Linked DNA regions of Homo sapiens: regions 2, 3, 4, 5, 6 and 7 are each linked to region 1. The links are contacts of gene promoters, found by promoter capture Hi-C in blood cells and fetal thymus (Javierre and others, 2016). All regions are on one chromosome and are shown on one strand. Each heading gives the region's core, a stretch centred on a gene start or on the middle of the fragment in contact. The rest is flanking DNA. Distances are from core to core; before and after follow the strand shown. Region 1 holds the start of PREP (prolyl endopeptidase). Region 2 has its middle 17 kb from the start of CRYBG1. Region 3 overlaps ATG5 (autophagy related 5). Region 4 overlaps ATG5 (autophagy related 5). Region 5 overlaps ATG5 (autophagy related 5). Region 6 overlaps ATG5 (autophagy related 5). Region 7 overlaps ATG5 (autophagy related 5).

The links. Contacts are between HindIII fragments. The CHiCAGO score rates a contact against its expected background, and 5 or more counts as called.
Region 2: a fragment that was not itself captured here is called in contact with the fragment with the promoter of PREP in region 1 in 1 of 17 cell types (activated CD4 T cells); the score reaches 5.2 in activated CD4 T cells.
Region 3: a fragment that was not itself captured here is called in contact with the fragment with the promoter of PREP in region 1 in 5 of 17 cell types (naive CD4 T cells, M1 macrophages, total CD8 T cells and 2 more); the score reaches 7.6 in naive CD4 T cells.
Region 4: a fragment that was not itself captured here is called in contact with the fragment with the promoter of PREP in region 1 in 2 of 17 cell types (total CD8 T cells and total CD4 T cells); the score reaches 5.7 in total CD8 T cells.
Region 5: a fragment that was not itself captured here is called in contact with the fragment with the promoter of PREP in region 1 in 6 of 17 cell types (naive CD8 T cells, activated CD4 T cells, total CD8 T cells and 3 more); the score reaches 6.9 in naive CD8 T cells.
Region 6: a fragment that was not itself captured here is called in contact with the fragment with the promoter of PREP in region 1 in 1 of 17 cell types (naive CD8 T cells); the score reaches 5.2 in naive CD8 T cells.
Region 7: a fragment that was not itself captured here is called in contact with the fragment with the promoter of PREP in region 1 in 3 of 17 cell types (total B cells, naive B cells and total CD8 T cells); the score reaches 8.7 in total B cells.

Annotation. Positions count from the first base shown.
Region 1 is chr6:105,401,149-105,405,033 of GRCh38, forward strand. PREP (prolyl endopeptidase) reads right to left here and starts at 1,934. Exons shown (of 15, transcript NM_002726.5): 1 at 1,699-1,934. The coding sequence starts at 1,743. RefSeq lists a silencer at 1,642-2,211. The HindIII fragment of the contact is 7,847 bases long and covers 1-3,885 here.
Region 2 is chr6:106,342,145-106,346,029 of GRCh38, forward strand. No RefSeq gene overlaps it. Among named protein-coding and RNA genes, the nearest start is that of CRYBG1, 17 kb to the right of the region's middle. The HindIII fragment of the contact is 440 bases long and covers 1,675-2,114 here.
Region 3 is chr6:106,292,469-106,296,353 of GRCh38, forward strand. It overlaps ATG5 (autophagy related 5), which reads right to left. Exons shown (of 8, transcript NM_004849.4): 4 at 560-638. Among named protein-coding and RNA genes, the nearest start is that of ATG5, 31 kb to the right of the region's middle. The HindIII fragment of the contact is 3,105 bases long and covers 434-3,538 here.
Region 4 is chr6:106,271,818-106,275,702 of GRCh38, forward strand. All of the region lies in intron 5 of ATG5 (autophagy related 5), which reads right to left. Among named protein-coding and RNA genes, the nearest start is that of ATG5, 52 kb to the right of the region's middle. The HindIII fragment of the contact is 1,299 bases long and covers 1,281-2,579 here.
Region 5 is chr6:106,250,383-106,254,267 of GRCh38, forward strand. All of the region lies in intron 5 of ATG5 (autophagy related 5), which reads right to left. Among named protein-coding and RNA genes, the nearest start is that of ATG5, 73 kb to the right of the region's middle. The HindIII fragment of the contact is 178 bases long and covers 2,048-2,225 here.
Region 6 is chr6:106,226,826-106,230,710 of GRCh38, forward strand. All of the region lies in intron 6 of ATG5 (autophagy related 5), which reads right to left. Among named protein-coding and RNA genes, the nearest start is that of ATG5, 97 kb to the right of the region's middle. RefSeq lists a silencer at 3,246-3,446. The HindIII fragment of the contact is 2,318 bases long and covers 1,128-3,445 here.
Region 7 is chr6:106,211,139-106,215,023 of GRCh38, forward strand. The region is part of intron 6 of ATG5 (autophagy related 5); the gene reads right to left. Among named protein-coding and RNA genes, the nearest start is that of ATG5, 110 kb to the right of the region's middle. The HindIII fragment of the contact is 214 bases long and covers 1,650-1,863 here.

The DNA.
Region 1 (3,885 bases), core at 684-3,183:
GTCTTCATAAAATCCTCACTTAAACCTTTCATGAAATATCAAACATAAATAAACAAACTGTAGGATTTAGGCACCCACAGTGGTGAAAAACTAACAAGTAACTCTAAAAACAAACTTAAAACTGCACTTATCAAACCACAGAATGGGTAATTCTTTATATTCTGATCCTCAAGAACCAGAACCAAGAGAGTCACCTGGCTTCCCATTACTAGTCTGGAACACTGCAGAGCTAGACTGTCACATGAATGAATGAATGAATGACAACATTCCTACTGCAGAAGCAAGTAAGCCCTATGGTCAGTCCAAATATTTCTCATATGAGAAAAAAGGCCCATAACAGGTAAAAGAGCTGCTAAAAGTCACCTAACTAGTGAATGACAGAACCAGAACTAGCGCTCTGGTCTTTTCATTTAGTCCAGCCTCTTTCTCCATTCCAGCAGGATCACTTTACTCCCATATTCAAAGGAAACAACCTTTAAACCACAGGAATAGAGCTTCTTGAGCTGTTAGGGTAAATTTAATAAGCAAGCAGCTGAGCAGACTGAGAAAACATGGTTACCAGATGGCCACTGGTCAAAGAAACCATGAATGAATGCATCAGTGTCACTTGGAAGTCTTAATTTAAAACAGTATGTCCTTTACTCCGAAGCGTCAGCACCCTTTACCCCAATGTAGCACGTGCTTTAAAGTAAACACTTTCTGGCATAAATTGGGAAAGTAAACAGAAAAACATTAAAACTGTATCACACAAATACATACTTATTCTGATTATATTTTAAGTAATCTGAGAAATGTAGCTATTAGTAAGAGAATCACGGCCACAACATGTGGATGCAATCCAGTTCCTAAGTCGTCAAATTCACGTTTACACAAAAAAGGTGTCTGCCCAGAATTCCGCCTACTGGATCTCAACAGTTACCTTGAGTTCATCTGCAGCTTAGGCAAATGGTGGTCAACTCCGCCACTAGACAAAACTTACTCATTCTGAAAAAGGTCAACCCCTCTCCCTTCTAAGACCTCCTCTCACCCTCTCTCAACTCCTTTTCTTGTTTAAGAAAACATGGATCAGCACGGCCACACTATGGGGTCACTGCTCCGCCTTCCCCATTTCTGTCCGGGTCTCTGGCATCCCCAGGGCCCAGTGCGCCTCATCCGACCTGGGACAGGGTAGGCGCTCAACACACCTTTTAAAATCGAACGAATATGCTTCAACTCTAAGGACTTTAAAGTGTAAGTTTTAAAAGTTTGTTTTCGTTTTTAAATGTGACATCACACACACACACACACACACACACACACAAACACACACACACACCCCAGCGGACACTTTCTCCTACCACCATATTTAAGCAAGAGGCTTCGCCAGTCAAAAAAGCAGTGACACCGTCTGTCTTCCCACTCCCTGAAGACACCCATTCTACCCGGGCGTCTGCCCTTGACCCCATTGATTCTAGGAAGCGGCCGGGCGGCGCTGCCCACAGGCTCCGCCGCCAGCACTAGCAGAGTGACCGCCCGCGGGACCCCAGCGCTGCAGAGGAGCCCCGCGCCCCCGGCCCAATTCTCCCAAACAAAGGCCGAGGGGGAGGGGAGGGACGCGGGGGTCGAAGGCCTACAGGAAGAGGAGCTGCGGGTGCCACGGGTCAGGCAGGCTGGGCACCTTTGCCCGGGAGCCCTCTGGGCGGAGGCAGAGATACTTACGGCGGTCTCGTCGCGGTACACGTCGGGGTACTGAAGGGACAGCATGGCCGGGGACAGGCAGGGGGCAGCGTGGAGGGGCGCGGGCTCCGGGAGCGGACCTGAGCTAGCCGGGCTGGCCGCGAGGCGCGGCTGGGGCGCAGGCAGCTGCGGGGCGGCCGGCGGCAGCGGGCGGCCGGCTCACGGCCAGAGCTAGCACAAACGGACTGGCGGCGCGGCGGCGAGGACGTGCAGAAAGCAGGAAGCCGCTGTCTGCGAGGCCGGGAGCCCCTCCCCGGCGGGCGGGCCCAGCGGCGGCGGCGGCGGCAAGAGGGAGCGGGCGGCACCGAGCGTGCGCTAAGGCCGGCGCACAGCTCCCTCTGCAGGATCGCCGGCCGCGCCCGCGCCGCCCGGGCGCACGGAGGAGCACGCCGGCTACGCGCTCGCCCACGCCCGGCCGCCCGCCCGTCCTCTGCGCCGGGGACAAGTCCTTCCACCGAGGCCGGGTCCCCGCGCCTTCCCTAGCGCCCTGCCTCTCTTTGGCCGCGCTCGCAGGACCGCCTGTAGGAGAGTGAAGCCCCAGGGTTTCCTTGCTGATGGAGTCCCCCACCTTCCCCAGCCTTCCTGTTCCCGGGCTGGTTACGGCGGCGAAGGGAGACCTTGCCTCTCCCCAGCCTTGGAAGCAGAGGGCTGGAGGTGGCCTTATGTCCACTGCCTGCGACTCTGGACTTGAAGGGAAGAAGTAATCGATCATGATGACCGTGAAAGAAACACGTCTCCCTTCATCCCAGGACCCCTGGTGGACACTGGGTGGTTTAGCATCCGGACTATGGAGATGCTTTGGAGGTGTTGGCAGGACTACGGTTGAGCCCTTATTTGATATTTACCGATTGAGAAAGAACCAAGATTAAGAGGCCTGGAACTCATCAGGGGTATTTTATTTATCCTGCCTTTTCCTCATTTCCTCTCCTGCTGTCATGCTTGTTTATTGAGCACCTACTGTTTATGGGAAGAAAAGATAATAGACAAGATACTTGACCTCAAACCCATGAAAATTTAATAGTTACATGTCATCATCCTCGGGCCAGCAGCGGTATGTGTTCTGGTCTTGCTTCCTGGACCACCCAGAAGAGACTTTATAGCCCCAGCCATCAGGGGTATAGTGTGTGCCCAGTGTGTTTTCTATCCCTGGCTTCCAAAAAGTCCTGGAAGAAAGAATAGGTGTGACCAGAAAGTCCTTCACCTCCGGAATCTAAGTGGATATGGTAACTATTATAAACTTGTGTCCTCCGTCTCTTTTGTGATATGGTCCCAATTCCATGCCTCACCCTTAGTTCACCATTTCTGTTCATAGTGATGTGTCATAATCATTTTCTGCATCTGATCCCAGATACCCCCTCCTGGGGCAATCTGAGAATCCTCAATTCTGGGAGAACTCACGCTATTGATAACAAACTTTGTGCAAACACGGGGGCATAGCCCACTACAGCCCAGAAGTCCCAATTCCAGTTCCCACCTCGTGCCTTCCCTGGCTGTCACCTGACGCAGGGACTGGCAGGCATTGTCTCCTCCTTCTGCCACTGTGAGGGATTTTTTAAAGAGCAACCCAGGAGCACTTGACCCAGCAGACCCCCTAATGATAATATTAATGCTTATGGAGTGTTTTTTTCAGTGTATCAGGAAACTATCTAGAACTAATGTCCCTATTTTATAGTTAAGGAAAACGGGCTGACTTTTGCCCAGGACTTCACAAAAAGTGAAAAAGTAGAGCCAGGATTCCAACCTAGGTCTCTCCAATACCAATGCTCATTCTTAACCACTCTGACGGCCTTCCTACTCATAAATAAGTAGAGATACTCTAGAGTCTACAGGGCACCCATTTGCAGGGAAAACTTCAATTTAGCAGGACCTAAAGAAAATGTGGGAATTGTGGTACCCAAAGGACAAATCAAACCTAGGTATCATCCTCTCTTCCCTTTCAGTCAGCCGTTCTGGTGCCCAGTTCCTCTGGGCCCTGAGAGGTAAAGGTTTGTAGTGGCACAGACAGTGCAAGAGGCTCCCAGCAGTAGGTTGTCTGCATCTGGAGTGAGATGGAGTGGGAGGGAAGATGGGAGAGCACCCTTTCCCCTCCTATTGACCACGTTAGTTGCACTTTTGTTTGCCAATGTGTTGTCTCCTTTAATCCTTATAGCAAAGACCATTTTACAGATG
Region 2 (3,885 bases), core at 645-3,144, 940 kb after region 1:
CATTGTTGTTTGCTGAAGTATTAATATTAATGATACAAAGAAATTATAAAACTGATAAGAAGAAAATTTTTAGCATGTGTTCCCTAGAGCTCAAAGTTGGTTAATGTCACTCTGGTGGGCAATGTTGTTAGTGGGGGGCTATACCTGTGTGGGGGCAGAGGATATATGGGAAGTCTCTGTACCTTCTATTCAAATTTCTTATGACCCTAAGAATGCTCTAGAAAAACTAAGTCTAAAAAAAAAAAAAAAAGAAAAAAGAAAAACTAAGTCTATTAAAAAGGTGGGGGATTACCTGCAAAGTATCCTTATGGAATTTTATGGTAACATCTAAAGAGATCTAGAGTTTGAGGGAGCAGTCTAGACTGGAGGCATTTTCTTAAGAAGACATTTATCACTCATGTTAGTCTGGGTCCTCCCAGAAGCAGACTCCAGGACAGGATTAAATTTACAAATATTTCTCTAGGAGAAGTCTCTGTGATAGAAAATGTAGGGGGGTCAGGCATGGTGGCTCACGCCTGTAATCCTAGCACTTTGAGAGGCTGAGGCAGAAGGATCGCTTGAGCCCAGGAGTTTGAGACTGGCCCAGGGAACATGGGGACATCCCTGAAAAAAAAAAAAAAAAAAGAAGGCCAGGCTCTGTGGCTCAAGCCTGTAATCCCAGCACTTTGGGAGGTGGAGGCGGGCGGATCAACTGACGTCAGGAGTTCAAGACCAGCCTGACCAGTATGGTGAAAACCTGCCTCTACTAAAAATACAAAAATTAGCCGGGCATGGCGGCACATGCTGTAATCCCAGCTACTCAGGAGGCTGAGGCAGGAGAATCACTTGAACTCCGGGGGGCTGAGGTTGCAATGACCCAAGATCACACCATTGCACTCCAGCTTGGGCAACAGAGCAAGACTTGGTCTCAAAAAAAAAAAAGAAAAAGAAAAAGAAAAGGAAAATGTAGGGAGAGAGGAGGGGCTGGGAAAGCCAGCTGTCAGTGGAGCAAAGGAGCAGGTGGATAGAAGCCAGTTTAGCCTAAGGTAGGTGCAACAAGAAATTTTTAGATGTCTCAAGCCAAAGTCATCAGTCAGAGGAGTCCCATGGAATAGGACTGCCCTCTAATCTCCAGCATGCTCAGTCCCTGGGCCCTCAATCAATCACTCTCACTCAGTAAAGATCTGTGAAGTGTATTCTCCTGACCACCACCACACTTTAACAAATACGTCTTATTTTAATATATACACATCAGTGTAAACAAAAGTTCAACACAATAAACTGTTCTTTGCCATCATGAAGTTCTGAGGGGCAGTGCATAGCTTTGCGTCTCTTGGCCACGGTTTCAGACCTTTCCTCTTCCCCTCTAGATGTCTCTGTAGTTCCTGATACTCAAATACCAGCTATTTAGGGATTAACAGATAAACCTATTCTTCATGCATTGCTGCTACATTGCTTTTTTGCCTACATGTCTTAATCTGATACTTCATTTAAAAAGCAGGATGTTTTGACCAGGCGTGGCAGCTCATGCCTGTAATCCCAGTACTTTGGGAGGCCAAGGGAGGTGGAACACCTGAGGTCAGGAGTTCAAGACCACTCTGACCAACATGGCAAAACCCTGTCCCCACTAAAAATACAAAAATTTAGCCAGGTGTGGTGGCATGCGCCTGTAGCCACATTTATTTAACCTTCCTAAGCTTTATTCTTCTCACCTATGAAATGGGGTAACAATAGTTGCAACCCTATAGTATTGTTATAGTAATAAATTATACATATGTTATATATACATAACAAATAAACATCTGTTTATATATGTGCTGTATGTTATATGCATATTTATATTTATATATATATACAATATTACACAGTGCCTGGTGTATGGTAAGCACTCAAAAAATTAACCATAATAATAACTATTGGCTGGGTGTGGTGGCTCATGCCTGTAATCCCAACAGTTTGGGAGGCCAAGCATGGAGGATTGCTTGAGCCCAGGACTTCAAGACCAGCCTGGGCAGCACAGGAAGACTATGTCTCTATTAAAAAAAAATAATAATAAATATTAATAACATCATTGTTTTTACCTCCCTGCTATTAGACTTACTCCCCTTTTTCATGTTAATTAATTAATTAATTAAAGCTTTCCTAAAGTATTTCCTGATCTTTAGGAATCTCTCACATAATTGCTAACATTTTTTTGGCACCCACTTTGGGCACCTTTATAGTATTTGAAATTTGACAGCAGGTGGCAGAAAACTCAACCAAAATTAGATTTTTAGTTGTTGTTCACATTACAAGAAGTCTAGGGCTTGGGTAGTGGCCCCATGGTAGCGTCATTGTTCCAAATGCTTCTTTCTTCCTGCCCTGCAATCCTCTGGGCCATAAGATGGGTTTGGCTTCTTTGGCATAACATTCATGTCTCAGGAAGGAAGACGAAAAGAAGACAGAAAGGATGGAGGCCAAGGACTTCCTCCTCTCAAAGGTTTACCATTCCATTCAAGGAAGCAAATCCTCGCCACAGATGTTCACCCACATCTAACTGGTCGTGATTGTGCCAAATGACTACCTCTATCTGGAAAACAAGCTGGGAAATCAAGTACTTTTAGTTAGAGAGTGTTCTCACCTCAAACAGAATCAGGGTAATGTTTTGAAGAAGGGAGAATGAGTATTGGCAACTAGCCATGTCTGGTACATGAGCTCATTTAATTCTATTTTAAAATGACAGTCTGTCCAAGATCCAGTACTATGGACTTGAATCTAGAATTCCATAATTGAGGTAATGGGTACATCAGAGCCAATGTCAATTAAGTAGGAGGAAATAAATTATACTAGTTTTTAAATTGAATTGATTGATTCATTTACGCAAAACCTCTGGATGCTAAATAAATGTAGCAACTGATGGGCTGCATTATCCCATGCATAAATTACCCATAACTAGCCAGTTAAGCAGTGTTTGAAACTGGCTGCTTATTAAGCCACTTTATTATGCCATTACTACAGTATATGAAATTATATTCTATGTTTCTGAGTAGGGAAAAGAACCCACACAGCTCGTTGCTTATGTGTTACCTATTTTCATTCAACAGTCTCAAATCCTTTTTCAGAACAAAGCAAATATGAATAAACAATCTGGTAACATGTAATTCATACAATTTAATAAGCATTGCAAATGAGAAAGGAGAGTGTTATTTTCATTTCTTCATATAATAATTACATCCTCTCTTGCAAAGCCCTCACTCATCTGGAAGAATTATATAATGTTCTCAATTTACCATAGGTAGTCAATGCTTAGCCTGTGTGGTATGTAGATGTATATCTTAGTTTCAGGACAGGACTGCATCCAAGCAATTTGAATGTGTCAGGTATGAGTGTCGTCCTATAGTTATTTAGGCCAAGCTAGGAAGAAGGCGGAGTAATAGTGGACTAAGGTATGGCCAAGACATAAGACAAAAATAAAATTTACTGTTAGTTTTTATGTATTAGATTAGTAAACTAATAACTAATGATAAAAATTTACAGCAGCAACTTCTTTACTTTATCCCTTAATTATTTGATGTTTCTTAGTCTTAGGTGTCGAACTAGATTTTAACCTCCTGAAGAATGTTTCTGGTCCCACATAAAGCACTTAACACTACCTTGGGCAATGCTTATTGATTAACTGAAAGATGTATTTATTAAAATTTTCAGTGTTAACTCCTAATTGCCAGTAAATTCTCTTTCCTTTTTCTCTTGAAAAAGTAGTAATCAGCCAAGTTCTTTTTTTTTTTCCTTTGAGACTGTGTCTTGCTCTGTTACCTAGGATGGAGTACACTGGCACACTCACGGCTCACTGCAGCCTCAACCTCCTGGGCTCGGGCGATGCTCCCACCTCAGCCTCCCGGGTAGCTGTGACTACAGGCACACACAACC
Region 3 (3,885 bases), core at 736-3,235, 890 kb after region 1:
GAGGTAGATCAAATCTTTGGAATTCTATCTCCTAACCCTTCTCTTAATTCATTCAAAATAGCCTTAGAATTACTCAACAGTATTAGGTTGTCCCCTCTGTACTTCCATATCCACATCTACATGCAAGATTTTTGTTTTTTCTAGCCGACTTTTAAAAATTAACACCAACTTTCAAAACTTTAAATTTTATTTTTTATAGAGGCAGGGTCTCACTACATTGCCCAGGCTGGTCTTGAAATCCTGGGCTCACCTCGGCCTCCCAAAGTGCTGGGATTACAGGCGTGAGCCACCAAGGCTGGCCCAAAAACTCGTAAATTTTAAAAAGTGTATTCAGCACTAATAAAGAAAAGCAGTTCATATATTAAAAGTTTAAGTGTTTCTGCCAAGAGTTAGGAAAAAATTGAAAAGTATCTTATAGACAAATACTAATCGAAGCTTAGCAACTAAAACAGTGTCAGGGGAAAAGCAATAAATAACTTCACTTAAAAAGAAAATTCTACTCGAAGTCTATTTATTATGTATCACAAATGGGACGAAGGAGAAATGCAATTTACTATACCTTAAAATGTACTGTGATGTTCCAAGGAAGAGCTGAACTTGATGCAAGAAGATCAAATAGCAAACCAATTGGATAATGCCTAAAAATGAAACAGTATATTTTGAGAAAATAAATATTTAAAGTTATAACTACAAGGCCAAAATAAATTTCCAACACATATTTTAACACCAAATGTCAGGGGCTTTAATCACAAATCACAGGAAGACTACATTCTACAGTTACGTGCCTAGGCTAGTATGATCTACTTTCCAGGCATCAGGTGGTTTCCTTCTAACCACTCCATTCCCATAGAAACCTCAATATGCACAATAGGATTGTGGGCAAAGGCATTCTTTATCAGCCATGTGAACTGTTATGTCACAGTACTGTTGCATCTAATTGTCATCCCTGTATTCATAAAGGACAGTTGATTTTTGTAAATTTATTTAAATATGTTTTTTACTTTTAGAACTTAAAATTTTAAAAAACTGTAAGAACCAAGATGAGCAACTAAAACGCATGCAAATCACCTATTCTGTGGTTATTACCATTAACATTATAGCATATACATTTCCAGTCTTCTACCTACACATACATATCTAAATACAGATTAGGACTATCCTTTACAAACTGTACTATAACTTTTTTCACATAATATAATGTCAACATTTTCCCAAGCCACTGAATATTCTTCTGAAACCTAATTCTAAATTTAAAAAAATAAGTTCCAAAATAAGAGAACATTTCCTAATATAACCATTACCCACAGTGAAGTAAATAACTTAGCAATAAATAAACATGACTAATACAAATGTTGTAGATTTCAATGGACAAACCTTAAGTCATCCTTTTAAAAAATCTAAAGTAAATTAGCTTACTTGGTTAATCAGAATTAAATAATACAGGTTGAGTATCCCATTTCCAAAATGCTTGGGATTAGAGAAGTGTTTCAGATTTCAGCTTTTTTTTTTTTCTTCAAATTTTGGAATATTTGCATCATATTCTTACCATTTGAGCATCACAAATCTGAAAATCTGAAATGCTGGAATGAGCACTTCCTTTGAGTGTCACGTCAGTGCTCAAAATGTTTTGGATTTTGTAGTCTTAGATTCTGGATTTCAAATTGTGGGATTTGGGATGCTCACCCTGTACTCACAACAAGGGCAAAAAGAAGACTACTTGGTGTTATACACAGTCCTGTCTTTATCTGTATAATCTATTAATGAGTTACTCCTAGATTTAAGAGCTGCAAAATTTGAAAACACATCAAATTTATCTCAAAATGAGTAACTCTGACCAAGATTCAAATATCAGTTAATATTATTTATGCTTGTGCTACTCTGGGCACGATGCTTATGGGATAGCCCTGCACTGCAAGGAGCAGTACACATTTGCTTATATATATAAACATAGATATATGTTTATATATATAATTGTATATATAATTTATGCTTGCTTACTTGTATAGAATTATGGAAAAGTCATCAGTTTCTAGAGATCATGTATTTATTTGGTAGGAATTTAGGATGGGCTGGGTACTGTAACTCAAGCCTGTAATCCCAACACTTTGGGGGGCCAAGGTGGGTGGATCACTTGACTTGAAGTCAGGAGTTCGAGACCAGTTCCAGTACCTGAGACTGACATGGTGAAACTCTGTCTCTACCCAAAAATACAAAAAAAAAAAAAATTAGCTGGGCATGATGGCACACACCTGCAGCCCTAGCTACTCAGGAGGCTGAGGCGGGAGACTCTCTTGAGCCCGAGAGGCAGAGGCTGCAGTGAGCCAAGACTGTGCCACTGCACTCCAGCCTGGACGACAGAGTGAGACCTTTTCTCAAGAAAAAAAAAAAAAAAAGAATTTAGGATGAACGCCCGGTCGGTAAAAATAAAGCAGTGGGGGTACTTTTAGTCTTATATGCATTATATCTCTTAATAATATCCCTTAAATTTCTCTCTAATCAATCCTTTCATATCCAGAAACTAATACTGAAGAAAATTCTGGAACCAGGAAAAACTCTCGCCTCAGTCAAAACCTAAAATTAAAAAAAAATATACATACACACACACACACATATACACACATATATAGTACTATAGACAAGTTATAGATTTAATCCAATTCTGATCCTTCTCTCTAAAGTATTAAAATTGAACAAGCTCTAAATAATACCTTATACTTTTACAAAACAGACCTTTTAACGTCTTCAATTTATTTTTTAGAATATCTCTCTTAGGTATCTGCAACAGGGTTAAAGATGAATGTAGGCACTTAATTAAAGTTTTATTCACTTGGATTTCATTAAAAAGACTTAACATTTCAAAAGTGACACCATATTGCTTTCCAAATTCTAAACAGCACTGAAAACACAAAGAACTCCGCTAGGCAAAATAGTCTAATCTATTAGATAAGATTCACTCGAGATCACATAAAATTACTAGCAATCCAGTGTTTTACATATTCCCTGCCATTAACAAATGTGTGAAACACTTTTGTGAATTTGTAAGCAAATTCTAAAACAAATATATCTTAAAGCAATCTATAATATAAAATCAAGTAATTTTTTTTTTTTTTTTTGAGACAGGGTCTTACTCTGTAACCTAGGCTGGAGTGCAGTGGTGCAGTCAGAGCTCACTACAATCTTGACCTCCTGGGCTCAAGCGATCCTCCCACCTCAGCCTCCTGAGTGGCTGGGACTACAGACATGTGCCACTATGCCCAGCTAATTATTTTATTTTTTATAGAGATAGTGTCCAACTATGTTGCCCAGGCTGGTCTCAAACTTCTGGACTCAAGCAATACTCCCACCTTGGCCACCCAAAGTAATGAGATTATAGGCATGAGCCACTATGTCCAGCCCAAATAACTCTTTAAGGAAATATCTGGATCAGAATACAAGTTAAACATAAGACTCAATCATAAATTATTTTTTTAACCCTCAATATTTAAAAAACGAGAAAACTATAAATATTTTAAAAATGAGAAAATTATAAATACACAGAAGCTTGAACAAAGTACATAATAAACAACTGCTGAATGCATAAATCGAAGAAGTCCACAGACTAACCCTAGGTACAACATAAAGATCTAATGGAGCCAATTTTAGGTTCTGAGTTTCTTTTTTGAGCAGTTCCAACTATTTTAATGATTGACACTTCATGACTTTTATTCATTCTTAAAGGTATTCCAAAGAACAGAAAAAACTCACTTTAAAAAAAAAAAGATAAAACTTACTCCATGTAGTAATTACCACATGGAGCTACTGGACACTTTTATAAATCTAAGATATATTTTAGGGTCTTAATGATCTTATTGTTTCCTATGTATCAAAACATTTTACTATTTCATC
Region 4 (3,885 bases), core at 680-3,179, 870 kb after region 1:
GGGTATCCTTGAAGAAAAACCTGTGTTTATCTACACTTTTAAAAGCTATGCATAGGATTAGTTCTCTGGAAGTGCCTAGAATATTCCCACTTTAGTGCCTTTGCTCTTGCTGTTCCCTCTGCCTAGGAAGTTTTTAATCCCAGATAAATATGCATGATCTCCTAAACTGCTTCAGGTCTTCATTTAATGTCATCCAATCAGTGAGGACTTCCCTGACCATCCTATTTAAAATAACAACGCCCTTTCCCAACAAAGTCCTTTCTCATCTTCCTTTGCTTTTTCTCTCATGGCACTCATCATCATAGGACACATAATACATATCACCACTGGTATAGACCACTGGTCTGATATGACCACTGGTATAGACTCCCACTTGGTCCTTTTCAATTCCCATTTGCTTCTTTCTAATTCATTAACCATACTGCAGCCAAAGGGATGTCTTAAAAAGGGAAATCTGATTCTGTTATAGGTCTGCTTAAAATGTTTCACTGGTCTCCTACCATCCCACTCTCTGTTCCTCCTGCCAGGGATTAAGTTCAATATTGTTAAAATGGCCTACAAAGCCCTGAACAGGCAGCGTCTCTGCCTGACTTCCAGTTTGACCTCCTTACCACTCTCGATCTTGATCACCACATTCTAGTCAGTTCTCAGAACTTAGTAGGCTCTTTGCTTCTGAACCTAGCCCAGATCATTCCCTCAGCCTGAAACAACTTTCATCACAACCACACCACTCTCTCTAGCCCTTCCTCCTTCCTCTACAACTCCAGTTATAAATGTAACAATTACGTAAAAGTGATCTGTTTAATGCCTGGCTCCTCTGCTACCCTACACATTCAGAGGGAAGGGATCGTGCCTGTCATATTTACCCCAGCGTCCCCTGTGCTTAGCACAGAGGCTGGCACATAGTAGGTTCTTATACTGGCTAGCTAATCCACACTACTACGGTCCGGGCATGATTCTCCTATAATGAAGACTGAATTTGCAGCCATGAAGATCAAAGACAATGAATGTTGTTTCCAAGACTTGATTAAACATGAGAGTATAAAATCTGTGAGAAATATTTGTGGCAATGGAAGAAAGAAAAATTTCCAAAAACTCACACAGACAAGGAATGAAAAATAATAGATGAAACAAGGCTGGCCATATACTGGTAACAGATGAGACTGAGTGACCGATATAGATTCATTCTACTATTTTCTTTGCTCTTATTTATACAATGTAATCTCAGTGTTCCAAAGACTGATAAAAATCTGAATTTTGCTAAAGACTGTAAAAAAGGAAGCTTATCCAATATCAGTCTTTCAATGAGAAAAAAGGTTCAAGAAGAGTAGTTATGCCTCCTACAGTTCTACTTAGGAATCTACTTTTACACCACCTGCAACTACAACAGAACCTGACACTGTAACAAAAAACACAGAAATTAAAGACTCAAAATAGATACACAGGTAGTAGCTGCATCAAGTCTAAAAACTCTTGTTTCTGTTTTAGTAGTTTTTCTATGTTACCACAGTTATTTCTGGAAAGTTATCTATTTCCTTCTACCTAGTAAGTCCTGCTTAAAAAGACCGAGAAGGAGGGGGATGGGAGAACAATAAATATTATTCACCCAGGAAGTCCTTTTGAAATGAACTGAAAACATCTATCATCAGAATTAAGGTGTATGTGATTATTGCTTTACAATCCTTGAATTTGAGTCTTATGAGGCATTACCACCTTCGTATTTGTAATAAAACTCCAGCTTTACAGACATCACCTAGGGGAAGGGAAGGGAATTGGGGAAGGGGTAGAAAAGAAAAGAAAGAAAAGTCCAGCTTAGAGAGAAAAGTGACCTGCCATGATCATACAACTGATAAGAGACACAGCAATAAATAAATAGATCAGGTCTGGTGCTCCATCTCAAAACAATAATTTCTCAGTCTACTTATTCTACTATAAGCAGAAGTAGTAAAAACAAGGCAATGCAATGACAACCCACCAGTCTATATCACACAAACCTCCAAAGAGCTGGAACGGCTGCATTTAACTTTTATGTTACCTACCAAACAAAAGTATTTTCCAAATGTCGTGACTTGTTATAAAATTACCATTAGCTAATCACCATCTCCTCTTAAAAACCAGTTTTAAGTTAAAATGGCACACTATCAAATAATTATTGTCTCTAAAATATTAATTAGTTGAAAAAGCCTAACCACATTTTAGAAACACTGTACACTTTTAACATATTAGCAGTTAAACCTTGCGTTTATTTGCAGGTCTACAGAACGTATCTAATGCCAACCCTCCCCGCCTTTTTGGGATTGTATACTCCGAAAAGCAAGAAACTAAGTCATGGTAAAAACATTTTTTATAGATTTCCTCAAATCACTAGCTTATAAGAAAAACAACTTGATATTAAATAGGTAATAGCCTGCACTTGCAGTAACAACTGCTCATAAATAAAAATGCTACTTTCTTTTATTTCTTGTGGCCATTAACTTTATTTCACAGAGAGGTTAAATATTTTTATATATAAAATGAAAACTCATAAAAAAAACACTGAAAGGCACAGTATGTCCTAAATGAGTTTTCTTGGTTTCATAAGCTTTTCTTATTTCTCTTTCACAGAGTTCTGAGAAATTAAAATTAGCATTTGAAAGTATTCAAAAATTGTTTAAACTGTTGTTTAGCTGTTATAATCTACAAGTGCAGTTCTAAATGAAATAAATGTGCCATCTATTATGTCACAATATTGAGAAATTTACAATTGCACTAACAGAAAGGTTTAATATCTCTGACTTCACAAATTAATAAAAACTTCTTTTGGAAGAAAAAACTCTACATAAAATCCAATTCCATAAATAAATTCAAACAAGACACTTCCTTTAGTTTAATAGGAAACTACTTATGAAAAATTGTTAATATTATTTCCTGTTAGTATTAGAAAGGAATAAAATAAAGAAGTCATGCAGTTAATATTTAGTTTCTCTACTCTCTGCCAAAGACCACACTAGGTGCTGGGGATACAAAAATGTAAGATGTACCCCAACCAGGCTAACTGATAGGCCAGCAAAATACATAAACCATATAACTATACCAGAGTGTGATAAAATACAAGAGAAAAAAATGCCTAAATGGACAAAAGGTCATGAAAGTTGAAAGCATTAACAGTTCTGCCTCCACTTTTCTATAAAGCTCTGTGAAGACAGGAGCCATGTTTGTCCCATCAGTGCTGGATGATCACTAGCCCCTAGCATAATGTCAGATATACACAAGGTGCTCAATAAATATCTGTTGACTAAAACAATAAAAGAAGGAAAGCTTCTTATAGAAAGTGACAACTGAGATGAGCATTAAAGCATCAGTAGGAGTTAAAGGGAAAAAAGTATTCCTGATAAAAGAAACAGAATAGAAAACATCCACCTTTTACCCATTTACATTAATTAACATTCAGCATTTTACTCCAAAATATATTTTCTACAAGCAACATTTACCAAGCTAAAGATTTCCGAAATGAATATTCTCATTCTGAATAAACAGAAAATAAAGTACCAAGGACTCCAGTATCCACAGCATACCTCTCATTAGACTTTGCTGTGGAGATCTCTCACAAGACTACTCAGTCTTAGAAGTATGTTAGCTCAATTACAGTAGTGTAAGCTTATTCATAATCATCACAAATAAAACCAAACATAATAGCTACAAAAATAATTTATAACCAAAAACAAAATGGAATAAAGTATATTTTAACCAAACATTATTAAGTTGGATTTAATCAAACGTCACTTTAAAATTAATTTAATAAAATTTAATAAAGAAAACTTTACAACAGTCACATAAGAAACAATATGAGCCAAGGCAGAAATAGAAAAAAAGTAATTTTATGCCCCAAAAAATTGTAATAAATGC
Region 5 (3,885 bases), core at 887-3,386, 850 kb after region 1:
ATTCTGAATCCAGTAAGTCCAGCACAATTTCACAGATGATAACTAAGGCCCAGATTATTATATGTTTAATTAATAACCAAGACCAGAATCTTGGTCTTCCGATTCAAAGTCCCCAATTGCTTCAACAGTTGCTGCCACGAAACTTTATCTTAATGTGAAGAATACTACTTTGACATAGTCCTCTCACATATGAAGCAATTATTCTGTCAATGCTTAAAAAAGTGTCTTTCTACCATCAAGTATCAAGCAAGAATGTGACAGCTAAATATAATGATTCTTCATGCATACTTAAAATTTTACTTTGCTGCCTTGTCATGAAATCTCAAGCACCTAGCATGGTGCATGCATAGTATGTGCTCTTGAATCAAAGAATGGATAGAACACTATGAACATAATTTCTCATAAAAGTAAACTGGAAAAAGAAACATGATTGTGCCAGTTATCAATTGTATGACTCTCTTCTCCAAATTCACCCTTCAATATATGCATCGCTATATGGTCACAAATCCTTTAAGCATCTCTACTGCAACAACTATCTTAAGATTTCTCAGCAGAAAATGCTAAAAGAAGTTGTAGGAGAAACGGTTCTGCCCAATGTCCAGATACGCAAGTCTCTCAGCAAGGTGGCAGCAGGAGCCTGGCCCAGGGTTAACCAGCCCTCAAGACAGAATCTAGCACTCCAAAGGCTTCCTGCTTGCATAGGCACACTAATGGGCGCTTGCCCTTATCAACATCTCAATTTGCTTGCTCTGGAGGCCTGCATGGGCTGCCCATCTGTGGTTTCCCACCCAGCTGCCACTCCCTCTGCACAACCATGCCACATGTTGTTGATCACCTGCATTCCAGGTTGCCCTGACTGCCAATGTACTACATACCAACTCTGGCCTGGCGGGAAGAGGGAACTTTTCTACTAATTCAATGAGCTGAATATACCTCCTCCAGTGAAGTCTGAGCCCTAGCCTTTGCAGGTGGGACCCCTTACAAGTTTGGTCTTCCTCTCTCAGCCCTAAGGTAAAATATATAGTTTTCTTATATTTTATAGACACTCTTTTATCAGAGTTTATTAATTCTTCACATAAAACTTAGCCTGCTTAACCCACTGATTAGGCCCAAATACAACTATGTTTAAAAGGAAGACACGATAAAAAAAAAATCTGTATTAATTGATATTAACTTTAATCTTCTTATAGAAACGCTATATTCTTATATTAAAAAGGTATTTTCCCAGCAATAGCTAAAAACACCCTAATCAGAGAGAGAGAGAGGGAGGGAGGGAGGAAGGGAGGGGGAGGGGGAGAGAAAGAAAGACAGAAAAAGAAAGAGAAAAAGAAAGAAAGAAAGAGAAAGAGAAAGAAAGAAAGAAAAGAAAGAAAGAAAAAGAAAAGAAGAAAAGAAAAGGAGGAGAGAAAATCAGTGTTGAGATTGAAGGAATAACCAAGTGTCTTTCACAATGGATTTTTTTGTTCCTTTTAAAAAGAGACAGAGTCTCGCTCTGTCACCCCAGCTGGAGTGCAGTGGCGAGATCTCTGCTCACTGCAACCTCCACCTCCCAGGTTCAAGAGGTTCTCCCACCTCAGCCTCCCAAGTAGCTGGGGTTATAGGCATGCATCATCACGCCCGGCTAATTTTTGTATTTTTAGTAGAGACGGGATTTCACCATGTTGGCCAGGCTGGTCTTGGACTTCTGACCTCAAGTGATCCATCTGCCTTGGCCTCCCAAAGTGCTGGATTACAGGCATGAGCCACCGTGCAGAGCCAAACAAAACAAAGACTAAGTAGGAGAAAATTAAAACTAGCAGTCACTTAGCTTATTCACATTGGGAGGAAGATAATATATATACTTCTCGCCAGAGCTACAAGCAATATTACTGATGTTAGTTTCTTTTTATAAAACTTAACATTTAAGAAGGCTATCAAATCAAAAGCATAAAACTGAAGGACTGTTCTACAGAAATATTCAATCAATTAAAAAAAAAAAAGATGAAAAATACCATTCCTCAAAAATCCTGATGGTCATCCATTTTTCCTCTCTCTCTCTGCTGAATTAAGCTTTTATATTGGTCTTGCAAATTTTAAAACACCTGGAAAAAATGTTATTTTTTTTTTAATTTCAGAGCTCTCTAAAATGCATAAGATACCAAGTTAATTTGTATTCTTTGTTACTCACATGGACAAACTGCAGGAAAAAGTGATAACTTTAAAGGATTTACCTATTCTTCCACTTAAGCTTTACGAGAGGTAAAAACTCAAGGCAAAATAATTCTTATGCCACAAATAACATGTCTAAAATCCCCCACGGGAGACATGGAGGACATATAAGGAGAGTGTAGGGATTGCTACTCAGGCTCAATTCAGCTGGCTAGGACCCTCATGCAGGAAACCGATGAAATGGTCTCCACATGCATACACTATTCACCTCCTGGTCTTTAACATCTAAGAAGCCAAGGGAGAGCAGAGTTACAGCATTTCAAATAAATGTCGGATTGTGACAGCACATAGAAGACAGACTGTAAGCTTGTCTTTGGAAGGAAAAGCAAATGGCTGAAAATCACTACAGAAGGGAACCCACTCTTCACAAAATTTTCCATCTGTCAACAGTATTATTCAAATCAGTACTACAAGTGATCATGTAATAATTGTATTGTTTTAATCAGAGGCTTTCAAGGTATGTAACAGAAAACACATTCAAATATAGACCCATATGAATTAATTTCTTCATACGTAATATGTTAAACATCTCTGTAAGACAAAACAGGAGAAAAATAAAAATGAACAAGTAGTAATTACTGGTAGGCTGCCAAAAGCAGGTTTTCAGTAAGTGACCTGTATCTTCAAACTCATCTGCCTTATGAGCCAGGTCAAATTAAGAGAATCAGCCCTTGAAAATTCATCATGAACACAGAAGTAGGTGGGCCCAGTGGGCTAGCCTCTGCGTCAGGGCTGAGCAGTGCCAGTCCTGGAGGAAGTTCATCCTTCATCCTGTCCATAAACACACATCTTGGCAGAAGGTTTCTACCCAGGGAAATCTGTGGTTTCAGTGAATCACAAAAGCAATAAAATCCAAATTCCTGGACAATTGTGACCTGGACAGTAACTGTCTGAAAATTAACTGAGAGAAGACATTTACTCCTTTACCCTACAAAGTAAGTGCCACAGTCTTAGAAAATTGGCATCAAGAACAGTAATCAATATATATTTAGACTGCAATTACTTCTCTCCGTGTTCACCACTACCACTTTCACCTCTCTGAGCCAACACAATAGCCTCCTACTTGGTCACTGTCCTATGTTTATCCCCTGTGCACAGCATCCAGAAAGCTCTTTTAAAGTATAAATCATCAACGAGTAAATTTTCAAATATTTTCTAATGGGCCATAAAACATAATGCTTTATGATGCACATTAATGATATGGTTATTTTAAGTTATATACTAAAATCATTTTTAAAAATATGCAACCCACTGCATCTCCTTACTGCCTGCATCTGGGGCAGACTGCTCCCTGACCAAACTCTACATGCAGGCAACCATAAATAATGTGAGTAACAAAATACCTCTTCCCCTAGAAGCAGATTCCTACCAGGCCCATTCCACCCCCTTGGAAAGTTATTGCTGCATTTCTCTGAGATCTCACTGTCTACCTTACTAACTTACTAAGTTACTACCTACCTTACTTACTAAGCTCTAAGTCATGCTATTTTTCTTTTCGGTCCCTAGTAAATACCAAACTTGCTCCCATTTCAGTTTTAGCAGCCTAGAATCCCCACTTTCCTAATCTTTACATAACTGCTTCTCATCATTCAAGTCTCAATAGTGTTACCCCCTCAGAAAGATTTCTTTCATAATCCTAGGTAAGACAGTCCCACTTTCCAATCATTCCCTATACCA
Region 6 (3,885 bases), core at 1,037-3,536, 830 kb after region 1:
AAAACTGAATTAACTTGAGGGGCTCAACAGCTGATTTGGGCAGCCAGAAGAATGAATCAGCAAATCTAAAGATAGGTCAATTGCGAGAAAGAGAGGGAAGAAGGAAGGAAGGAAGGAAAGGAGGCTCAGAGACCCAAGAGACACCATCAGGCATACCAATATACATATAATGAGAGGCCCAGAAGAAGATGCAGAAAAAGGGTCAGAGTATCTGAAAAAATAATGGCCCTAAACTTCCCGAACTTGACCCCAAAAATTAATCTACACATCCAAGAAGATAAACAAACTAAAAAGAATAAAATCAAAGCGATCCACACCTAGGTACATCATAATCAAATGACTGAAATATAAAGAGAGACTCTCAAAACAGGCAAGGGACTTATGTACAAAACATCTTCAGATTAATAACAAATTTCTCATCAGAAATGATGTTGTCAATAGGCAATCAGATGACATAATCAAAGCACTGAAAGAAGTAGAATGTCTGGGACCTGGAATGCTGGTGGACACCTGTAATCTCAGTATTTTGGGTGGCCAAGGTGGGAGGATCACTTGAGGCAAGGAGTTGAAGACCAGCCTGGGCAGCAGAAAGAGGCTCTGTCTCTACAAAGAATAAAAAGATTGGCTGAATGTGGTGGTGTGGACCTGTAGTCCCAGCTACTCAGGCGGCTAAGGTGGAAAGATCGCTTGAGCCCAGGAGTTGGAGGCTGCAGTGAGCTATGACTGTGCCACTGCACTCTTGCAGTGGAGACCCTGTCTCTATAAAGAAAAAATGTCAACCAAAAACTACATGCAGAAAAACTGCACTTCAAGAAATGATCAGTACCTTGAAGCTCTGAAGGTGCTTAAGACTGTAGATCAATACCATAGAAAATAATTTAGTATTTAGGAATGTAAGAAAATTAAGACAGCCTTGTTTGATAACTACACATAATACTGTAACTGTTCTTGCACTGTTCTGGTTATTGTCAAGCTATGAGCACAAACTGATGACTGAAATACAGAATACAGAACAGGATATAAAATCTTATCAGGTAAAGTTAGGCAAGCAATTACTAGTTGTAATTCAACTTGAAGGAGAAGGAATAAGGAACCAACTCAAACCAGGCAGCAATGAATTGTAAAAAAGCTTAAGGTAAAACAAACAGGGAAATAAAACAACTCAGAACCTAAGCATATCGTAAGAACCTAATCTAACAAGGAGGGGCTTAAACTGATTATTTTACAGCTTGGGTGCAATTATCCCACAAAAAACTTTCAGGAGTTTCACCAGTCCATAAACTATTTGGTTATTAGAAAATAGCTTTATTGGGCTACCCTCTTTGGGTCCCCTCCCTTTGTATGGGAGCTCTGTTTTCACTCTATTAAATCTTGCAACTGCACTCTTCTGGTCCGTGTTTGTTACGGCTCGAGCTGAGCTTTCACTCTCCATCCACCACTGCTGTTTGCCGCCATCGCAGGCCTGCCACTGACTTCCATCCCTCTGGATCTAGCAGGGTGTCCGTTGTGCTCCTGATCCAGTGAGACGCCCATTGCCGATCCCGACTGGGCTAAAGACTTGCCATTGTTCCTACGCGGCTAAGTGCCCGGGTTCATCCTAATTGAGCTGAACACTAGTCACTGGGTTCCACGGTTCTCTTCTGTGACCCGTGGCTTCTAATAGAGCTATAACACTCACCGCGTGGCCCAAGATTCCATTTATTGGAATCCATGAGGCCAAGAACCCCAGGTCAGAGAACACGAGGCTTGCCATCATCTTAGAAGCAGCCCGCCACCATCTTCGGAGTTCTGGGAGCAAGGACCCCCTGGTAACAATTTGGCGACCACAAAGGGACCTGAACCCGCAACCATGAAGGGATCTCCAAAGCGGTAATATTGGACCACTTTTGCTTGCTACTCTGGCCTATCCCTTAGAATTGGAGGAAAATACTGGGCACCTGTCGGCCGGTTAAAAACGATTAGCATGGCCGCCAGACTTTAGACTCAGGTATGAGGCTATCTGGGGAAGGGCTTTCTAACAACCCTCAACCCTTCTGGGTTGGGAACCTTGGTCTGCCTGGAGCCAGCTTCCACTTTCAATTTTCCTGGGGAAGCCAAGGGCTGACTAGAGGCAGAAAGCTGTCGTCCCGAACTCCCGGCATTAGCCGGTTGAGATCATGTCGCAGCCAGAAGTCTCTACTCAACAGTCGCCCATGCGTGCGCTCCTACCTTCCCTTCTGTCCCACACCTCCTGGGTCCCAACCACGACTTTCTTGAAAGTGTAGCCCCAAAATTCTCCTTACCTCTGAATCTACTTCCTCTGATCCCTGCCTCCTAGGTACTAATGGTTGAGACTTTCATTTCCTCTAGCAAGTTGTATCTCCAAAGGGATCTAAGGAAGCTCTATGCTGCGCCCTTAGGCATCTAGGCTATAAACCCAGGGAGTCTTGTCCCTGGTGTCCCTCCTGATTTAGGTATACAGCTCTAGACATGGGCAGTTATGTGGGACCTGTTCCCCACCACCCTTGCCAGGGCCCCAAGTTTGTAAATGGCTAAGAGAGGAAACAGAGAGAGACAGAGAGAAAGAGACAGTGAGAGACAGACAGAGACAGAGAGAGAGAGAGACAGAGAGGAGAGAGAGAGAGACAGGGAGGACAGGGAGAGAGACAGAGAGGAGAGGGAGAGAGACAAAGAGGAGAAAGAGGCAGAGAGACAAACAGGGAGTCAGAGAAAGAAAGACAAAGATAGAAATAGTAAAAAAAAACAGTGTGCCCTATTCCTTTAAAAGCCAGGGTAAATGTAAAACCTATAATTGATAATTGAAGGTCTTCTCCGCGACCCTATAACACTCCAATACTACCTTGTTGTCAGCGTAAACAAGGGCGTAGCCTGAAAACACTAAGACCACTGACAACCCATAGCCTTCCTATCAAAAATCCTTAACATCCAGTGACCTGCGGATGGCCCAAATGCATTCAATCTGTAGCGGCAACTGCTTTGCTAACAGAAAAAAGTAGAAAAGTAACTTTTAGAGGAAACCTCATTGTGAGCACACCTCACCGGTTCAGAATTATTCTAAGTCAAAAAAGCAAAAAGGTAGCTTATTAACTCAAAAATATTAAAGTATGGGGCTATTCTGTCAGAAAAAGGTAATTTAACACTAACCACTGATAATTCCCTTAACCCTGCAGATTTCCTTACAGGGGATTTAAATCTTAATTACCATACAAAGGTCCGACCAGACCTAGGAGGAACTCCCTTCAGGACAGGATGATAGATGGTTCCTCCCAAATGACTGAGGAAAAAACCACAATGGGTATTCAGTAATTGATAGGGAGACTCTTGTGGAAGCAGAGTTAGAAAAATTGCCTAATAATTGGTCTCCTCAAATGTCAGAGCTGTTTGCACTCAGCCAAGCCTTAACGTACTTACCGAATCAAAAAGACTATCTCAATCCTGACTCAAAAGCTTACTTATACCCTCTCTGAAACGAATTTGCCTAAGAACTGTTGTTTATGGGAATGCATCTTGATGGAGCAGCTGGGTTGTTATGAAATACTCAGGAACTCAGCCTAGCTCTAGGACTCACCCCTGAGCACAAAGGCAATGTTGGGCACGCTGGTAAAGGACCACTAGAATCCAGCAGCCCGGACCCCTTTCTTTGTGATCAAGAAAGGCGGGAAAAGGGGTGAGGGCTGCTACATCAGTGAGCATAACTAATCCGATAAGCAGAGGTCCATGGGTGGTTACACACCCCGGAAAGGAATAAGCATTAGGACCATAGAGGACGCTCTAGGACTAATGCTCATCGGAAAATGACTAGTGGTGCTGGCATCCCTATGTTCTTTTTTCAGATAGGAAACGTTCCCCTCAAGGCAAAAACACCCCTAAGATGTATTCTGGAGA
Region 7 (3,885 bases), core at 507-3,006, 810 kb after region 1:
GTGGAGTCAATGTCCATAAAGAGGAGGAAGAATGCCATCAGAGTAAAAGGAGATTCTATTCACTGAAACAAAGTGATAAAAAGCTATGAAAGAGAAAAACATAAAATAACCAAAGGGGTGAAACTTAACAGATGCCCAGTAGATGCACAATGCACTGGGTTGTAAAACTTAAAATGGCCTTAATTAAAAGCCAAGCACGGATGGAGGTGCTGGGGGAGTCTCCTACGGACACAGCAGGCAGAATGTAACAATGACAAGGGGCTCAAGTTTATTTAAAAAGAGATTGGACAGGCCGGGCGTGGTGGCTCACGCCTGTAATCCCAGCACTTTGGGAGGCTGAGGCGGGTGGATCATGAGGTCGGGAGTTCGAGGCCAGCCTGGCCAACATGGCGAAACCTCATCTCTACTAAAAATAAAAAAAATTAGCCGGGAGTGGTGGCGTGCATCTGTAGTCCCAGCTACTCAGGAGGCTGAGGCAGGAGAATCACTTGAACCTGGGAGGCAAAGGTTGCAGTGAGCTGAGATCATGTCACTGCACTCCAGCCTGGGCAACAGAGTGAGACTGCTCAGGATCTCCCAAAGACCCAAATCCCTGTAAACTGAATGCATAATATCATTTGCTCCAGTGAGGCTTAGATGGACATTCTAGTCTTCTTGGTTGAGCTGAAGAAACAAATATTATATTGATAATTTATGTATGTTGTATTTTTCAAGGTATAGCAACAAGTTTTTATTCATCAGCTACTTTGTGTGTGTGCTTTGTTTTTAAGTCTTTTGAAACAGGATGGTGATTTACTACATTTATAAGTAAAATTTATTTGATTTACAAGGGTTGCTTAAGTGTATCACAGGATTTCACTTGTTATATTTGCAGGTGCTTAAAAAATCAGCTATACTAAACTATAACTGGAATTAGCAAAGTTCATTTATTGATTAATCAAGAATATAATTAGATTTGCCTAACTATATAAGTAGTACTATGTGTTATTTAAGAATTAAATCTAGAAAAGGGATGGACTCTGGAAATATCAAGAAGTGAAAAAGACTGCTCTCATTTTTGTACAACAATTACTAAATTTCTAAGTAGCATTAATTGAACTGAAAAGGCATTTTAGAAAAACTAGATTTTACAATTTATAACTCTAATAAAACACAACTAACTATGAGTGTGCTTGTTCATGCCCAAAAGCTACCTTCCAAAATTAAAAACCCTATTGGATGGCTGGGTGCAGAGGCTCATGCCTGTAATTCCAGCACTTTGGGAGGCCAAGGCGGGCGGATCACCTGAGGTCAGGAGTTCGAGATCAGCCTGGCCAATATGGTGAACCCGTCTCTAACAAAAATACAAAAATTAGCCGGGCGCTGTGGCGGGTGCTTGTAATCCCAGCTACTCGGGAGGCTGAGGCAGGAGAATCACTTGATCCTGTGAGGCGGAGGTTGCAGTGAGCTGACACCGTCCCACTGCACTCCAGCCTGGGCGAGAGCCCAGAGCGAGACTCCGTATATTAAACAAAACAAAACAAAACTCAAAAAACCCTATTGGCAATTACTAGGGCCATCAAATCAGTATATTTTCACTTGACACACAATTTTGAGATAATGAACCGAACTTACTATTTTTGAAAATATTACATAATAAATATTAGTGAAGCTTCATTGCTGAAATGGTGACAAAGATGAATAGCAATAAAACTTTTCTTATAGATCTTTAGCAAAAACAAAAAAACCCCAAGCATACTATGGTACATTACTTTAGAGAATCAAGTAGCTGCTAGTTGAGTAATAGTGGTAATAGGCACTACAATGATATAAACAAATTACAACAAAGAATATTGTTTTTATTTCCTGTCCATGTTTTAAAAAAGCTTTGGTTTTACCTATGTTTAACAAAAGCATAGGTACAACAACGACTACTACTACTAACATATAAGTAGCCTGGATAGAATTATCTTAATAGTAGTACCCAAGTGCAGGATCTCTAAGTAATGATCAGAAGGCAGGAATAAATTTTATCAGAAATCTTCATTCATTACATATTTACTATGCATTTACCAGGGTATCACTATGCTAATGGATACAAAGATAAATAACATGCAAACAACTGTAATACAGTGTTATGTGATAACAGAAATATGTACAAAGCACTATGAAAAAAATTACAAAGCTTGAGCACAAATTTTAACTCTGGACTTACTGGCATTTAGAGCAAAACCAAAACAATCCTAACTGGTTAATTTCATTTTCTAAGAGTTGGAAGCTATATCAGTAGGTACAAAGTAAAATATGCTAATTGTGGTAGAAAGTAAAATATTACAACAGTAGAGAATTTCAAAAGAAGATAAAAATAATGGAGGGAATATAGAAGGTCTTCAAGCTTCCAGCTTGAAATACATATTTTTTTTTAAATAGAGAAAGAGATAAAGTCATTTGAGTATTCAGAGGGCAGACTGAATATAATGGTACTTCTGAGAAATCAGTGGATAAGGAGAGAAAAGTGGACTAAAGGCCATAGCATATAGAGCTTGGAATGTCAAATGTAGTGGAAATAACAAAGGTTTGGTTGGAATCCCAACTCCCAACAACGTACTGTGTATCTAGAGCAAATTACATCAACCTTTGGGAGTACTGTTTCTGAATCTGAAAAATGAGGAAAACTTATCTTTGAACAATTGATGTGATAATTAAATGAGATATATGAAATATCTAATGTAACAAGTGCTTAACAATGACTAGTTCTTTTCATTCCTCTCTTGAACCATTGTGAAACGTAGAACCAAGAAAGGTAACAGTATTTAGTTGTTACAGAACCCATTAAGAGAGAATAAAAAATAACTGGTATTCTAACTTCAGTTTCCTTTGAAGTCTTGTTAATGAGAATAAATATTATGTGGCACAAAGAAAAAGAAAACAGGGGTTTACACAGGATATGCTGCCAGACTTTACCAACAATGACACATGATATCTGCTTCAACTGTCCCATGCATATTTGGCTTAAGATATATTCATGCATATCAAATTTTACATCACATGGTTTTCAAAAGAAGATTCATTAAAATTAGCTTAAGAATGTACACAATATACAATACCTCATTAAATAAAAAGAACAGACCATTTCCAAATGAATGCTTTTAGAGCTTTACAGTAAACAGTCTTTTGGTGGTAGAAAGAGGGGGAACAGAGAGGGGAGTGGGTGGGAGTCTGTAGCACTTATCAGACTACTTTTATCCTTTATGTAGAGAAATAGGAGAGTTGAAAATAAGCACTTTCTGTACTTATGTTGAGAGTCTGAAGCCCACTTTTAATAGTCTTGACAACACTAAAAAATAATAATTAACATTTGAAAAGCTGTCATTATTATAGTCAGGGACACTTAATCTCCAAAGGAGAAGTTTCTTAATTGATACTATGATTAAATAAAAGCATCCATCAGAATTATATCCACAATCTGGTTTGGAGTTTATGTTTTGTCTTATTTAAATTGTTATACTTATTATAATTCTGTCTAGACAGTGCCAAATGTACTTTGTCATACAAACACTTGAGGCAAATTTTCTTCAAATAAGCGCAACACTTTGTTTCCTCTTCGTATCCTTTGACTGAATAACGTGTGGTACAGAGAAGTAATACTTCCCTTTCTTGGGATCGAGATCAATTTGATGCTTGTTATAAGCCCATTTACAGAACAAATGGTATTGCTTTTAAATTTTTATATGAACTTATCAGTAGACTAGCCAAAAAAGAAGCTTCATATAAAAGTGCTAGGATTGATATTCTTAGTAATAATTAGGTAAATTCTCTAAAATTTTCTCCCAAAAGATCTGAAAAATCATACCAAGGGAAGTATAGTTTAAATTTCATTATATATAATAGCTTTAAAATATCTTT